Regions from separate parts of the Homo sapiens genome. Here regions 2, 3, 4, 5 and 6 are each linked to region 1. The links are contacts of gene promoters, found by promoter capture Hi-C in blood cells and fetal thymus (Javierre and others, 2016). All regions are on one chromosome and are shown on one strand. The core of a region is centred on a gene start or on the middle of the fragment in contact, and the rest is flanking DNA. Distances in the headings are between cores, read along the strand shown. Region 1 holds the start of C8orf88 (chromosome 8 open reading frame 88). Region 2 overlaps LOC124901974 (a long non-coding RNA gene). Region 3 overlaps OSGIN2 (oxidative stress induced growth inhibitor family member 2). Region 4 overlaps OSGIN2 (oxidative stress induced growth inhibitor family member 2). Region 5 overlaps NBN (nibrin). Region 6 overlaps NBN (nibrin).

Evidence for each region. Contacts are between HindIII fragments. The CHiCAGO score rates a contact against its expected background, and 5 or more counts as called.
Region 2: a fragment that was not itself captured here is called in contact with the fragment with the promoter of C8orf88 in region 1 in 5 of 17 cell types (fetal thymus, monocytes, non-activated CD4 T cells and 2 more); the score reaches 12.5 in fetal thymus.
Region 3: a contact is called between a fragment that was not itself captured here and the fragment with the promoter of C8orf88 in region 1, in 5 of 17 cell types (fetal thymus, non-activated CD4 T cells, total B cells and 2 more). The highest score is 14.4, in fetal thymus.
Region 4: a fragment that was not itself captured here is called in contact with the fragment with the promoter of C8orf88 in region 1 in 6 of 17 cell types (fetal thymus, neutrophils, naive B cells and 3 more); the score reaches 7.0 in fetal thymus.
Region 5: a contact is called between a fragment that was not itself captured here and the fragment with the promoter of C8orf88 in region 1, in 5 of 17 cell types (fetal thymus, non-activated CD4 T cells, monocytes and 2 more). The highest score is 6.9, in fetal thymus.
Region 6: a fragment that was not itself captured here is called in contact with the fragment with the promoter of C8orf88 in region 1 in 1 of 17 cell types (fetal thymus); the score reaches 8.1 in fetal thymus.

What each region holds. Positions count from the first base shown.
Region 1 is chr8:90,983,945-90,986,567 of GRCh38, reverse strand. It overlaps C8orf88 (chromosome 8 open reading frame 88), which reads left to right and starts at 1,330. Exons shown (of 6, transcript NM_001190972.2): 1 at 1,330-1,454. RefSeq lists a silencer at 1,147-1,306. The HindIII fragment of the contact is 2,363 bases long and covers 1-2,053 here.
Region 2 is chr8:89,887,503-89,890,125 of GRCh38, reverse strand. LOC124901974 (a long non-coding RNA gene) reads left to right here. Exons shown (of 2, transcript XR_007061001.1): 2 at 1-2,623. Among named protein-coding and RNA genes, the nearest start is that of OSGIN2, 14 kb to the left of the region's middle. The HindIII fragment of the contact is 829 bases long and covers 920-1,748 here.
Region 3 is chr8:89,905,872-89,908,494 of GRCh38, reverse strand. The region is part of intron 1 of OSGIN2 (oxidative stress induced growth inhibitor family member 2); the gene reads right to left. Among named protein-coding and RNA genes, the nearest start is that of OSGIN2, 4.6 kb to the right of the region's middle. The HindIII fragment of the contact is 6,258 bases long and covers 1-2,623 here.
Region 4 is chr8:89,923,434-89,926,056 of GRCh38, reverse strand. OSGIN2 (oxidative stress induced growth inhibitor family member 2) reads right to left here. Exons shown (of 6, transcript NM_001126111.3): 6 at 1-1,554. The coding sequence ends at 525. Among named protein-coding and RNA genes, the nearest start is that of OSGIN2, 22 kb to the right of the region's middle. The HindIII fragment of the contact is 606 bases long and covers 1,029-1,634 here.
Region 5 is chr8:89,952,693-89,955,315 of GRCh38, reverse strand. NBN (nibrin) reads left to right here. Exons shown (of 16, transcript NM_002485.5): 10 at 1-33; 11 at 1,625-2,072. Among named protein-coding and RNA genes, the nearest start is that of NBN, 31 kb to the left of the region's middle. The HindIII fragment of the contact is 1,582 bases long and covers 532-2,113 here.
Region 6 is chr8:89,970,309-89,972,931 of GRCh38, reverse strand. It overlaps NBN (nibrin), which reads left to right. Exons shown (of 16, transcript NM_002485.5): 6 at 1,642-1,759; 7 at 2,375-2,568. Among named protein-coding and RNA genes, the nearest start is that of NBN, 13 kb to the left of the region's middle. The HindIII fragment of the contact is 5,697 bases long and covers 1-2,623 here.

The DNA of each region.
Region 1 (2,623 bases), core at 81-2,580:
AAAATCAAGGAGTCTGTCTAGTCTAATTTCTCTCTTCCTCTCAATAAATTACTAATACTGATCTGAATTGGAATTCTTCCAATTTACATTTTTGTCACAATAGTTTCTACTGACTTCATACAGTGATATGCACAAAATAATTTTATTGTAAGATGTATATAAAATTATACATGCTTCATTGTTAAGTATATTCCTGAAGAAGAAAACTTCTGTTGTGACTAGATGGATGAGAACCACATCCTGCACTTAAGATTTTCTACATCTGGTGGTTGGAATATATTGATTCCACTGTGCAGACTTCTGGTGCCTCACCCCAAGGGATGCCCTTTTATCATGACCCATCTCTGACCCTGGACCCTAGGTCTCTGATGCCAGGCGAGTTGTCTCAGTGGATAGTAGGAGTGTTTCTGGAAGCCATTTCTAAACGGAGACAGCTCCAATAACTTGACTATACATGGAAGTGCTTGTGAAACTTCATACCTTCCAAAATGGTAAATCCTGATAGTGCCCCACTTAAAACCGTTCAGTGTTTGCCAGTGCATTTTCAACTGTCCTTTTGGTGCTTGGGGACGTGAGGGACTGCCACCTCCACGTCCCTCAGTACAAGCAGACAGTCCCCCTCTGGGGACACTCAAAGATAATGAAAAATTAGCAAAAGGATTGAAGGTGAAGATTAAAAAGAAATGATTCGGATGGAGTTGCCTTAATTCATTTTGTTCCTTTCAGGATGGCAGTCTGTGTGAAACGCTGTATCCCTGGTCTGAGGTAAACCAGGTCTCAAACATCTTCCTCCCTGCCAACCCGAATCCCGACACCCACTAAATGCACCAAGGGGAAAGCAGCGCCTGCCAGCAGCTCTGACGGGGGACAGGAGTAGGGTGGACTCAGTCGTCAGCACGACGGCGGCCTCCCTCACAGAGGCGGCCTCCCTCACAGACGCTGCCTGGAACCCGCCGCCAAGCCCCCAGCAGGCGGCCCGCCTGGCGCCTCCCAGTCTTCGCACAAGCAGGGCCACGGTCTGGGGCCCCCAAGGCCGTTCACGCGGGCGCGCCCCGTCGAGGGCTAGCCTGTCAGCGCCTCACTCGCGGCCTCCTACCCTAGACGACCGGCTCTGGGTGGCGCCGCTCCAACCCCACGCGCCCAGCTCGCCCGGGAAAGCGCGCGCCACCCTTTTAACGGTTCTACCCCGGCAGGGGTGCGGCTGCTCTCGAGGCTCAGCGCCCGAGGCCACGCCCCGCGCCCGCCCTGGGCCCGCCTCGTGCCCCTCGGAGCCGCCTCCCGCCCCGCCCCCCGCCCCTCGCCCCCCGCCCCTCGCCCCCCGCCGCCGCCACCGCGGTCAGCCAGCGGACCAGCGGCAGGAGCCGTTCCCCGACGGGCAGCAGGGCGCTCGGCCTCCGCGTGTGGGCTGAGCGCGGCGACGCTGCTGCCCCGAAATCCCCGTGGATTTTGAGTCGGTAAGTGGCTAGGGAGGATGAGCGACACTGGGGGACGGAAGTCGGGCCCCGTGGTGTGGAGGAGGCGGGTGGGCGCCGTCTCCCAGGCCCGACCCCGGGAAAGTTGAGGCGAGGAAGAGAAGCTCTGAGGTGGGTCGGGAAATCTCTCAGGGCCCCTTCAGTACCCTGTGGACCCTGAATGGGAGTGGGATGGGAGCGAGAGCGTCGGATGAGGGGAAAGAAAGTGTAGGGGGCCAGGGGAGCCCGACGGAGGGGCAAGTGGCCGAGACCAAAGCCATCGCCAAAAAAGGAGCTAAGTACACAGCTCCCCTTGGCTCTGCCCCAGCACCTGGTGCCAGGCGGTGGGAGGCTTTCAAGACGATTTGCCCCCTCCACCCGGTGGCACAAGGTTTTCATTGCTGGTGTTTTAGTCAAAGCTACGGAAAGGACAGTTACATGACTAAAGTAATCACAGACACCTATTACCTGGACAGCTTTAGCCCATCCGAATGTTAAATTGTGTTTTGTTTTGAGAAATCCCTCAAATAGACCAAAAAAAAAATTAAATTAGTTATAAAGAGAAGGCATGAAATGGAAGATATGTTGGAACTCTCCAAGCTTCTAGTTTTTTGATATTTTCGTTTTAATTTTTCCTTAATAGTGCAACCAGATATATGGAACGTGAAATGTCTTTCACCACTTGAGTCATAGGTGGTTTATTTCTTACTCCCCGATGTTTCCTGTATGTTTCTCTTCATCTATCATTTTGTCAGTGTGAGCAGTTTACTTACAAGCAGTATTGGGTTTCAAGGAATCCTAACTTTGTAATGTTTTGAAGTTGGAAATTGAGATGAAATTTTATCTGGTTATCATATGGGAATTATACACAAGGTAAATTCAAATATGGTCTTTTCATTTCATTATTTCACTTTATATGATCTTATTTCTCAACGGCAGCGGTAGCATCAGTACTTTCCAAAGAAGACTAGAATTTATATTGGAGTTTAAGTATAGTACTCAGCTTCTAAAAACAGTGCATAGTATATTTCATATGCTGTGATCTATGGTTAGTATGGCAGTATACCATGTCTGTAGCGTGAGGAAAGCACAGTACTCCCTAATTTATTTAGTATTCTAAGAAAAATGGTAAATTGAAGAAATGGATATTATTAGCATATACCAATTTATTC
Region 2 (2,623 bases), core at 85-2,584, 1.1 Mb after region 1:
CAGAGGACAGAAAGAAAAATACCAAGGAGGCTTCTTGCTGAAAAGTACAATTTATTTTTGTGACTATTGTAGCAGTCAGGTTCAGTTACAGAGAATAGAATTCATAGAAATCATTCTATGTGCTCTATAATTTAAAGATAAAAAGAATTTCTCAACAAGTATTACATATTCTGCTGAATCATAGGAGGGCTGAAGAAACATAGAACTCTGAGAAAAATTCCTAGAGTCACACTATAAGAGCAAGCCACCAAAGAAGCTGCTGCCTGTCTCTGAACAAAAAGCTGCCTACAAAATCAGAAAACTGCAGCTACAGCTGCTGACTCCAGAATTATACTGGACATGCAACATTTTAATTTTTTATTGTCTGTGTCCCTCTACTACAAAGTCAGTTCAAGAAGTCAGGAATTTTTTTCTTTGTTCACTGTTATATACACAGCACTGAGAATGAATCTTGACTTGTAGTAGGAATGAATACTCACAGTCATAGGTAGCACTCACCCACTAAACCCAGCTGGGCTGATATTGGGTAAACCTTTTAACTAAGTGGAAAGAATAAACATGAGTCATGAGAGATTTATTTCTCTGTCTCATAGTCTGTAAGGTCAGTTGGTAGGCTCAATTTGCATTACTACAAGATTAAAGAAAAGAGGAAAAGTAGAGAACAACAGAGAAAGAAAAGATAAATCCTAAGAATTTACATTTTCAACATCAGAATAGTAGAAGTTCCTGAAAGTTAGAGAAGAGAAAGTGGTTGGATGAAACTTGCTTAATAAGAAAAAAATTTCAGAACTAAAGGGAAACATGATTCTGCAAATGTAGAAGACCTACTGAGTACTGAACAGAAAAAAGAAAAATATGTATATACATAGATATATCATGAAATTTAAGGATAGCAAGAATGAAGAGGATTCTAAAAGCTTCTAGGAAGAAAGTTCAAGTACTCCATAAAGGAATGAGAATCAGGCTGGCAACAAACTTTTGAGTGAGTGTTAAGATACAAGAAACCCTAAAAGTTCCTAGGAGAAATGACTTTAAACTTAGAATTCCTTTTTTTAATTTGGTCCACACAGGGTCTCACTTTGTTGCCCAGGCTGCTGTACAATGGCCCAGTCATGGCTCACTAAAGCCTTGACCTCCTAGGCTTAAGTGATCCTCCCTCTCTGCCTTCTGAGTAGCTGGGACTACAGGCGTAAGCCACCATGCCAGCTAATTTTTTTTATTTTTTATAGAGACAGGGCTGGGTGCGGTGGCTCACACCTGTAATCCCAGCACTTTGAAAGGCCAAGGCAGGTGGATCACCTGAGGTCAGGAGTTCGAGACCAGCCTGGCCAACGTGGTGAAACCCCGTCTCTAATAAAAATATAAAAATTAGCTGAGCATGGTGGCGGGCACCTGTAATCCCAGCTACTTGGGAGGCTGAGGCAGGAGAATCCCTTGAACCCAGGAGACGGAGGTTGCAGTGAGCCGTGATCACGCCATTTCACTCTAGCCTGGGAGACACGAACAAAACTCCCCCTAAAAAAAAAAAATTGGTTAGAGACAGGGTCTCGCTGTGTTGCGGAGGCTGGTCTTGAGCTCTTGGGTTCAAGCCATCCTCCCTCGTCAGCCTCCCAAAATATTGAGATTTGAGATTACAGGTGTGAGCCACCACGCCTCCTGAACTTGGAATTCTATACCATGCCAAACTATTGATAAAATAATGTGGGCAGAATGAAAAAGAAAATGAAACCCAAACTTTTGAGAAAGCTTTGCCTCACTAATATTCTTTTTTAGGATGTTTCTTGAGAATACAGGCCAAGAAAACAAGGGACTTGTTGAAGGAAATGAAGTGGATTGGGTCTGTGAAACAGTGGAACAAATTCAGAAATGCAGTGAACGCAAGTTCCAGGATAGTTATGCAACAGGAAGCCTGTCTATCCAGATTGAAAGACTTCAGGACTGTAAGAACTGCCTGTAGAAAAAAAGGAGTTCCTGGATTTGCTAGTATTCTGGAAATGTTGGAAGAATCTAGTCTAATGATGCCATAAAGGAAGACAATTCAAGACAAAGTAAAAAGGCAATTTATAATTTAATTGAGTAGGGTATATGACAAAAAGCTGTACCAAAAAACAAATAGAGACATAGAAGGTAACTTTCATGGACAGTGAATACTGTTTACACAGATGTAGCATAAATAGCCTTTACTGATTTTCAAAAATACAGTCCACCTGTAGGCAAAGCAAGAATTGCTTAACTATAGTTACAAAACAGGTTGTAAATGTGAAGCATGATAGTGTAATAAAGGAACCAAAGATGAAGACAAGGGTAAGGGATACAAAATTCTTATCTGGCAAAGTGAAGAGGGATTGTTTATATTGAAGCAAGAACTGTGAGTTACATTATTTAAAGTTGCAAATGTAATAAGTGCAATGCTGACTAGTGATATAATTTATTAGCTGTTATGAGTAGGGAAAATTTGTGGTGGTTTAATGTAGTTAAATCTTCATCTATCTTGGCAGGAAGTGAGTATGCAACATCTAAGATTGAGACATCAAAAATTCACAGCATGAGCAGATTGTTTACAGATGGGGTAACTAAAAACAATGAGGTAAATGTGGTTGCCTCTGGGAAAAACACTGGAGGC
Region 3 (2,623 bases), core at 75-2,574, 1.1 Mb after region 1:
TCACTGATCCCAGAGGAGGTTGATAAACAGAAAAGAATCAGGCAGAGACAGGCATTTCTACTTCCCTATAACCTTCAGAGTTCCCAGTCTACCCTAGGATAGGCGAGACTTCCTCAGGACATACTGAGAGCTTTCTTGAAGCAAAGAAAGTAACCTGTACCCCAAATATTTGGTTTCCCCTTACATAGCCTCTTTTGACCAAAACAGACACCAATCAGACATGGCTACTAAGGGAAACCCCTCCTCACAGTGCAAGCCTACCCTTGGGAGGAAGTTTTATATGCTCAATCCATCTATTTCTGACTCATTCCAACTACTGCCTCTGATCAGATCCAGATGCCTCAGCTGTCTTGCCCATGCCCGCTTCTACCTCTTGGCAACTGCATTTAACATGTTTTATATTCTGCTCTGTCCCTGGTATTTCTCCAAAGTATGTGCAAAGGTTAGGTTCTCCTGTACCTTTGGAGGCTTCTGATCAAAGTCATTTTGATCAGAAACCTCCAAACCACTGCTCAAAGAAATCAGAGATGACACACACAAACCACTGCTCAATGAAATCAGAGGCGACGGGAATGGGAAAACATTCCATATTCATGTGTAGGAAGAATCAGTATCATTAAAATGGCTATGCAAATTCATACAAACTGCCCAAAGCAATTTATAGATACAATGCTATTCCCATTAAACTCCCGATGACATTCTTCAAAGAACTAGAAAAAACTATTTTAAAATTCATATGAAACCAAAAAAGAGCCTAAATAGCCAAGGCAATCCTAAGTGAAAAGAACAAAGCGGGAAGCATCACCTCACCTGACTTCAGACTATTCTACAGGGCTACAGTAACCAAAACAGCATGGTACTGGTACAAAAACAGACACATAGACCAATGGAAGAGAAAACCCACAAATAAGACCACACACCTGCAACTATCTGATCTTTGACAAACCTGACAAAAATAAGCAATGGGGAAAGGATTCCCTATTCAATAAATAGTGCTGGGATAACTAGTTAGCCATATGCAGAAGATCTAAACTGGATACCTTCCTTATACCACATACAAAAAGTAACTCTAGATGGATTAAAGACTCAAATATAAAACCCCAAACTATATAAACCCTGGAAGACAACCTAGGCAATACCATTCAGGACACAGGCACAAGCAGAGTTTGATGAGGAAGACGCCAAAGGCAATTGCAACAAAAGCAAAAAAAAATTGACAAATGGTATCTAATTAAACTAACGAGCTTCTGCACAGCAAAAGAAACTATCAACAGAGTAAACAGACAACCAACAGAATGGGAGAAAATTTTTGCAAACTATGCATCCAACAAAGGTCTAATATCCAGCATCTATGAGGAACTTAAATTTACAAGAAAAAACAACCCCACAGAAAAGTGGGCAAAGGACATGAACAGACACTTCTCAAAAGAAGACATACAGGCAGCCAACAATCATATGAAAAAAAGTTCAACATCACTCATTAGAGAAACGCAAATCAAAACCACAATGAGGCACCATCTAACACCAGTCAAAATGGCTATTAAAAAGTCAAAAAATAACAAATGCTGACAAGGTTATGGAGAAAAGGGAATGCTTATATGTTGGGGGGAGTGTATTAGTTCAGCCATTGTGGAATAGTGTGGTGATTCCTCAAAGACCTAAAGATAGAAATACCATTCCACCCAGCAATCCCATTACTGGGTATATACCCAAAGGAATAAAAATAATTCTATTATACAGACAAATGCACGTGTACATTCACTGCAGCACTATTCACAATGGCAAAGGCATGGAATCAACCTAAACACCCATCAATGATAGACTGGATAAAGAAAACATGGTACATATGCACCATAGAATACTATACAGCCACAAAAAAGAATGAGATCAGGTCCTTTGCAGGGACATAGATGGAGCTGGAGGCCCTTATCCTTAGCAAACTAACACAGGAACAGAAAACCAAAGACCACATGTTGTCACTTATAAGGGGGAGCTAAATGAGGAGAACACATGGACACACAGAGGGGAACAACACACACTGGGGCCCACCCGAGGATGAAGGGTGGGAGGAGGGAGAGGATCAAGAAAAACAACTAATGCAAGTTTGTTCAACCCACATGCGGCCCAGGATGGCTTTGAATGTGGCTCAACACAAATTCGTAGACTTTCTTAAAACATTATGAGATTTTCTTGCCATTTTTTTAAGCTCATCAGCTATCATCAATGTGAGTGTATTTTATGTGTGGCCCAAGACAATTCTTCCAATGTGGTCCAGGGAAGCAAAAAGAGTGGACACCCCTGAACTAATGGGTACTAGGCTTAATACCTGCGTGATGAAACAAACTCCCATGACACATGTTTACCTATGTAAGAAACCTGAACTTGCATCCCTGTACTTAAAAGAAAAAACAGAATATTAAGTTTTTCAATCCATGAATATAGAATTCCTTTCCATTTATTTAGACCTTTAATTTCTCTCAACATTTTGTAGTTTTCAGTGCATAAGTATTGCATTTATTAAATTTATTCTTATGTATTTCATTTTTTGATGCTATTATATAAATGAAATACCTTTGTTAATTTCATTTTAAATTATTCAGTGTTAATGTACAGAAATACAATT
Region 4 (2,623 bases), core at 82-2,581, 1.1 Mb after region 1:
TTTTATGAGCATACATATCCCTTGGGGATCTTGTTAAAATGCAGGAAGTAAGTTGTGGGGCCTGAGAGTTTACATTTCTAACAAGCTACAGATGTAAGATGCTGCAGGACCTTGCACCACCCTTTGAACAGCAAGGTGACCCATTATATATTTAAGATAATTTCTGGCATAATGACTGCACAGTTTTATAGATTCAAGGCTGTACTATTTTGGAATCAAGTATAATAAATAACCAAAAATGATCATGAAAAATAAGTTTTGCAAGAAAAGAATGTTTTAGTTAAATGAAAGCTTAAGTTACACCAAGTTGGCAGTGTTTCTATTTGTCTGACAGTGACACCTTTGAAACACTGCAATATAAATCAGGATACCAAATTCTAGTAACTTTTAAAAATGAAGTTACTATAGTTTGAGGCTCTCCTTCAGTTAACTCAAGTCCAGAAAATTCAAGCCAGTACACTGCAAAACCACTATTAAAAATCTTTAATGGCAAACTGTCCATTTTAATTACTTGTAAACTTGCTTTAAGCTATCCCATCTCCTCCTCCTCTTTCAACAAACAAATGCTTTTTCTTCTGTCTTGTAGCTAAACAGCGTGTAACACCCAGCGCCCCTCCCTTTAAAAATCGAACAAAATTGTCTCCAACCAAAGGACCCAATGCAAAAAGGTTGGCTTCTTTAATACACTCATAGGTATATGTATCTATTTCCACAGGATTACCCTTACATGTGATTGGCTGGCTTGACTTATGGCCTAGGTAACACCCTTGATCCTTCAGAAAAGACAGATTAGGATGAGAACCTATCAATACTACTGCTGCAGACAGCTTAAATATTTTCTTCAATCCAGAAACGCTTTGGAGAACACATTTCATGTCCGACTTAAAGGAAAGCACACGGTGCTCGGGAAAGCTGGTATAATCAGATAAAAGATTTGAGTCTACAGAATATGACTGAGTACACATCATATGATAGACTTTATGATATTCAGGATACAGCTTTTTGGGAAGCTGTTTGAAAATTAAGCTTGGATCAGTTACTCGTCTGCGAAACACATGAATCACAGGGATATTACTGTTGTAAGCACACAGTACTGCGTCAGCGGCAGTAAGCCCAGAACCTACAATTAACACTGGATCCACTTTGCCACGCAACTTTCCTTTGTTTATAGCAGCTCCAAATTCAGGCATTGAATGAAACACAAAAGGAAAATCTTCCCCTTCAATTTCCAGATGGGCAGGAGAATCCAGCGTTCCAGTTGCCAGCGCTACATTCTCAGCAAAGAGGCAGAAGGGAACATGAGAACCATCAGCTATTCGCTGATAACCCCTAATTTCCCAGTTTCTCTTGATAAAGTTTGACTTCTCTATCTGTAAATGCTTTGTTGAAATATCTCTGTCTTGAATATCATCATCATCTTGATCTCTGTAGAGTCTTGATACGGAAGTTATGTAAGTATTCTCTCTGAAATTCTTCTGAAGACCCATGACTTTTACATAATGTTTATAGTAGCGAGCTATTTCCTCTGGCATAACTCGATCCCCTTTTAGGCTCCTAAAAAAGGAAAAGGAAAAATATCCTATAAGGATACTACTTTCAGTTTCCATGATTATTACTTATCTACCTAGTAAGCTTTTATAGCTTTTTAATTCTGCTGGACTGTCTTAGCTATACATTATCCTAACACTTAAAAAAAAAACTATTTTTAGTTAAAAATCTTCATGAGTTACTTTTTAGCAAAAAATTGGAAGAAGTCCCATGAGAGCAGAGACTATATTTAATGCACTTCTGTTTCCCCAGTGCCATGCATAGTGTCTGCTCAAATACACTGCTTGATAAACTTTCATTAAATGAAGGTATTAAAATGTGGATATTTGAAAATTGGACTACTTTATCTCACAATTATAATCTATAACTATCAACTGAATTATTTTCATGGCAATCATTGAGATATTACAGGCCTAACTAATATCTATGCTTCTTAAAATTATACATGCCATCTTGACATGAATTTTAGTACACTGCTATTTTCCTAACAGCTGAAAATAATTCAGATCTGTCTTTTGCTAAACAAAGTCATCTTACATCTAGGTTAAGTAACAGATGACATTTCACTCTATGTGTTTTCCTACTCACAAGCAGAGCTAAAACATAACTGTTATGAAAAACTTGCATTAGTCTGTATGTCATTTTCCAAAGTTCAAAGCAACAAGCAAAATCCCCTGCCCCAATCAGAGATAAGAAGCAAATTATTTGACATAATTCATGATGTGGATGCTCTTCAATTTACAGTAGGGTTTGTCCTGATAGACCAATTGTAAGTTGAAAATATTTTAAGTCAAAAATGCATTTAATAACAACTAGCTTACTGAACATCAAAGCTTAGCCTAGCTTGCCTTAAATGTGCTCAGAGCACTTACACTAGCCTACAGTTGGGCAAAATCATCTAACAAAATGCCTATTTTATAATAAAGTGTTGAATACCTCATGTGACTTATTGAATTCTATACTGAAAGTGAAAAACAGAACAGTTGCATTGGTACCCAAAGTATAGTTTGTATGAAATGCACATCACTTTGGTACCACCTTAAAACCTAAAAACCTTAAGTGAAACCATGATTAA
Region 5 (2,623 bases), core at 73-2,572, 1.0 Mb after region 1:
CAGAAACTACTTTCAGCCGTCTACCAAAAAAAGGTCTGTTTTTGATAACTTCTCTCATGTCTCTGAAAAAAAAATGAAAGTTTTTTATACTGTTGTAGAATGGTATTGTCTTTAGTCTGTTCTGATTAAGTATGCTTCTGCTGCTGCAGCTTTTTGACCGCTTTCCCTCTCAGAAATGTCCCTGATCTCCTTCACTAGAGCCACTAGACAGTTTCTCCTTCATCTCCTTCTATGTATGTACTTACGTGTTATTTTACTTGCCGCAATTCTCTTCAATAAGAACTAACCCCCTGTCTCAGCTCTAAAATCACATTTCTGCTGGTTTTCCTTGAGAACCGCTCTCACTCCCTCTAGGACCATATTCCATCAATTATTTTCTCAATTTCCATATTTTGAATATATTGATCATCCCAGATTTTTTTCTTCTGTTTTCAAAAGTTCAATCTCACCTTTATTTTTGAAAACCTTCTCTTGACCTGGTTTCTTCCTCTAGCTACTGCTGCCTTTTTTCTTGTGCCGTCCCGTTAAGCTTCTCAGAAAAGATGATGTTATTTCTCCCATTTCTGTATGAACTTTGGAGGACTTCTTTTCTTCCCCGTACTGCTCTTTATACTCTACCTTCAGGTTTTGAGACTTTATTACTGACAATCAACATATGTGGCCCTAACTTTTCCTTTAAACTTTACTTCTTTTCCACAGGGGTTTCATGCTGTTTCCCCAGTAATAGACCTAAAAACTTTTTCTGTCCTCTCACCAAATGTGGTTTTGTTTTTTTTTTTTAGTAAAATAGCTTATGTTGTTACAATTTTTGACTCTTGTCCTCTGGCTCCTGAAATCAGTGTTATTGATTGTTATTTTCAGTGTCTGTCAATCCCTCCATTTCCATCTATTGCCAGGTTCAAACTCTGACCACCTAAATTATTACAAAAACCTCTCGATTGGTTGGTTTGTCCAGTACCTTGGCATTAAATTAGTGTTAATAGAACATTGGGTTGACTGTTCTTGTTCAACATGAATCCAATAAACTCCTGGAGAACAGAGTCCCAGGTCTTTGTGTCCTCTATGGGCTTAGTACAGTTTGCATAAAGTGTTTGGTATTTATTGAATGAATGATACAGTATTGTATAGGAAACTTTTAGTGATATATTCACATAGCATTTGCAGTATACAGTCAGTACCGTATTGTAGATTTAGTCACTCTGACTTACTGTCTTGAATCCATCTCTCATTAACCCATCAGATTGTATTCCCAGGGCAGTTTTCCCTGCCCACAACCTTACTACGTTATAAAGTAAGTTGCTGTCTCTTGGCAACAGTTTCTTTGTATTTTTATATTTTTCTACCTTTTCCTGTAATTTATCAACTAATGCAACTTAAGCAGAGAAGATAGAGATCACCGTACTGCTTTAGCCACAGGGTCCGTCAGTTCTATCAAAACAGCAGAATGTATGTGAGTTCTGCACTGTTTTCAAAGGTCTATTTGTTGATTTCCAGTAATATTGTTAATAAAATCAAGAGTACATTGTGAACTAAATGGAGGGAGTGATGAATATTGCCAAACTAAATGGTTACTTAGCTGTGTTCATTTTCTTGTTTTGTTTTCTTCTTTTTTTTTAAATCTAAGGGAAAGGGATGAAGAAAATCAAGAAATGTCTTCATGCAAATCAGCAAGAATAGAAACGTCTTGTTCTCTTTTAGAACAAACACAACCTGCTACACCCTCATTGTGGAAAAATAAGGAGCAGCATCTATCTGAGAATGAGCCTGTGGACACAAACTCAGACAATAACTTATTTACAGATACAGATTTAAAATCTATTGTGAAAAATTCTGCCAGTAAATCTCATGCTGCAGAAAAGCTAAGATCAAATAAAAAAAGGGAAATGGATGATGTGGCCATAGAAGATGAAGTATTGGAACAGTTATTCAAGGACACAAAACCAGAGTTAGAAATTGATGTGAAAGTTCAAAAACAGGAGGAAGATGTCAATGTTAGAAAAAGGCCAAGGATGGATATAGAAACAAATGACACTTTCAGTGATGAAGCAGTACCAGAAAGTAGCAAAATATCTGTAAGTAACATTTTAAATGAGAGGTATAGTACATAGAAGCTTAGAATGCTAACAGGTACTTTCGATTTTGTATTGACAGTATGAGCATCCATTAATGTCTTTAACACTCAGTACTATAGAAATTTGTTGGTTGATAAGGTAAATGGTAAATGTTAAAAGTACAGTGATTCTTCAGTAGTGTAAAATAAATGACCACAAATTAAACTTTCATATGAGATTGTTTTACTAGATTTCCAAATTAGGCTGTACTATTATAAAAGACATTTGGCTATGATGATAAGTGTAGGAGATGCTTCAGTATAAGAAACAGGCACAGAAAGATGAAGTTAGTAAAACAAAGTATCTACTCAATAAATTTTTAGGATATAACATCACTAGGAATTTTCATTTTCATTTAGGTTTTGTAATGTCCTTGTCTATTTTCATGACTGTTGATAATTTGTCTTACCCACTTTGATCTATGAAAACACCTGAGATTATTTTCTTTTTTGTATACATCAGTAAGTTGACTTATCTGTAGATTTGTTAGCTCTTTAGATGAGAGCACAGAC
Region 6 (2,623 bases), core at 124-2,623, 1.0 Mb after region 1:
GAAAGCTGTAGATAATTTAAAAATCATTCAACTTTAGTGTTTTGGGAAAGCAGGAAGAATCTCACATCTACTCAGTCATAGTTTTATAGTCATGTTTGACTGTAACACACAGTCATATGTGTTAAACATTTCCTTACTGTTTTTGTCTGTAACTGGCTCTGTAATCTGTCCTAGTGTTGTTACATTATTGTGTGAACTAATTGGTAAACTAGTTATTTGTATATAAGTAAAGTGTTAGTTGGCTTTTACACTAAGAAAGAAGTATAAGTTATGGGGGAATATTTATTAGGAGATAAAGGATAAAAAGGATTCAAAGAGATATTAAAATTGATCCTTTTTATGTGTCCGAATGTCTACTAACTTTCCAGTGCTCTTATTGTAGATTTAGTTTTTGTTAACAGTTAAAATAGTTTCCACTGTTCTCTGTATATTTTAAAAGTAAAATAAATAGAATTTTAAAGTCGGTTGTTTAGAAAAACCATAACTAACGCAGTTGCCTGCATTCTGTCCTGCCAAGTGAGTCTGCTCTTGCCTGCAGATAACTCATTTGAGATTGCAGCTTCCAGAAATCATTGCTTTAAAACAGACTTACAGCATCTATTGTAGTGAAATTAAAATACATGCATCAGTTATCAAAAAAATTTTAAAGTATTGTAACTCTTCAATCATAACTTAGCTTTACTTTATGAAATATGTATGTTTCCAAGGAGAAGTCCAGGGGAAAGATGTAAGGTAATTAGTTCTAAAGTGCTGGATAGTGACTCTTAATGACTGCAGTGTTTTTACCACGTTGGATGTTGATCTCTGCAGATAGTTAACTCTTGATTTGTGACTGATTGTCCAGGTTGTGAATTTCTCCCTCCCTACATTGTCCCCTTATCATCATCATCATGGGTTAGTAATTTTTACTGAAAGGAAGAGAGACAAGTCGAAATGCCGGTCAGTTATGAACAGCTGTAGCAAAAGATCTGATTATACAGGAAGTTGAAACTCTAGACTGATGAGAGGCTTAAGAATTATCTGTTGATATTTCTCCATTTCTTATTTTCCTTTATTTTCATGGATGATTAAGATGTTCTTATAGCATTAAATTAAAGAGCTAAAACATTATATTCTTTAGTCTTGTTTTGGAAATTTTATTTGAACTGAGTAAATAATGTAAGTTTAAAAATTTCCTGAACTTCTCCAAAGAGATCTCTAACAAAACACTCATAATAGATTGTGCTAGTAGAATTGAAACATGAGCGTTTTAATAGATATTGGCTCCTAAGTAAACACAAGATGCTAATAGAATTTGATCTTTATGGATGATGTTTCTCTCAAACTTTTGTAATTCAGACACCTTGTTTGAGTCATGTGTGTTTAATGTTCATCCTGTTATGATTGTCTACCTTGGATTATTTATTTTGAGATATTAATGATCAATTCTAGCTCTTCTTTGTGTCACCTGCCACCATATTTCTAGAAAACGCGATTAGATGCTTTTTGTCATTTTGTCCCAGATAAAATTCTTACTTAAAAAAAATACTATAAAGGTATTATGGAAATTATGCCTTTTGAGTGTCAGATAGTCACTCCGTTTACAATTTAATAGCAAACATAGTAGTATATAATTAGAATATACTTTAATTATTTTTACAGTTTTTACCCACCTCTTGATGAACCATCTATTGGAAGTAAAAATGTTGATCTGTCAGGACGGCAGGAAAGAAAACAAATCTTCAAAGGGAAAACATTTATATTTTTGAATGCCAAACAGGTAATTATGTTATAAGCTAAATTTTCCTAAAGAATACATTACAAACTAGGATACATTATTAACTCTTATCAGTAGTTGTTAACGTATTTCATTTTGGGATTTTGTGTAAAAGTGTGAAGTAGAATAAAAAAACCCCAGGCACCAGACCTGCCCAGTGATCATGGCTGTGATTACGGGGTTTCTTAAAATCTGTGATAACTGGCCTATTCATAAATATGCAAGTGAGAAGGACAGGAAACTTAGTTTTAACTTCTTTAGTTAGTAAGCTAAACCTCTTTAGTTAGTAAGCTCACTAAAGAAGTTAAATCAGTTGAATATGTTCTGTGTACCAAAGTGGGGTTTCCAAGAGTTTATGTTGTAGTGGAGAAATGCAGATAAGCCCACAGTTAGAGTGCTGTTAGGAAGTGTGATGAGGAACCACAGAGAGTGTAACAGTTCCAGGGCCGCAGAGACCTGTTGAACTAGGGACTTTCTCAAAGTGGAAGCTGAAATGACCTACTCAAGAAGTAGCACCAAGTCTTCTTGAATTGTACTTCTATGTTTCCCAAATCAAATTCTTATGTGTTCAAAAAATTACTACATTTTACTTTAAAAAATGTTTCCTTCCATTTTTAGCATAAGAAATTGAGTTCCGCAGTTGTCTTTGGAGGTGGGGAAGCTAGGTTGATAACAGAAGAGAATGAAGAAGAACATAATTTCTTTTTGGCTCCGGGAACGTGTGTTGTTGATACAGGAATAACAAACTCACAGACCTTAATTCCTGACTGTCAGAAGAAATGGATTCAGTCAATAATGGATATGCTCCAAAGGTATAGAATTATTCTTTATTAGTAAAAAACTGCAAGTAGGAGATTTTATGTTTAA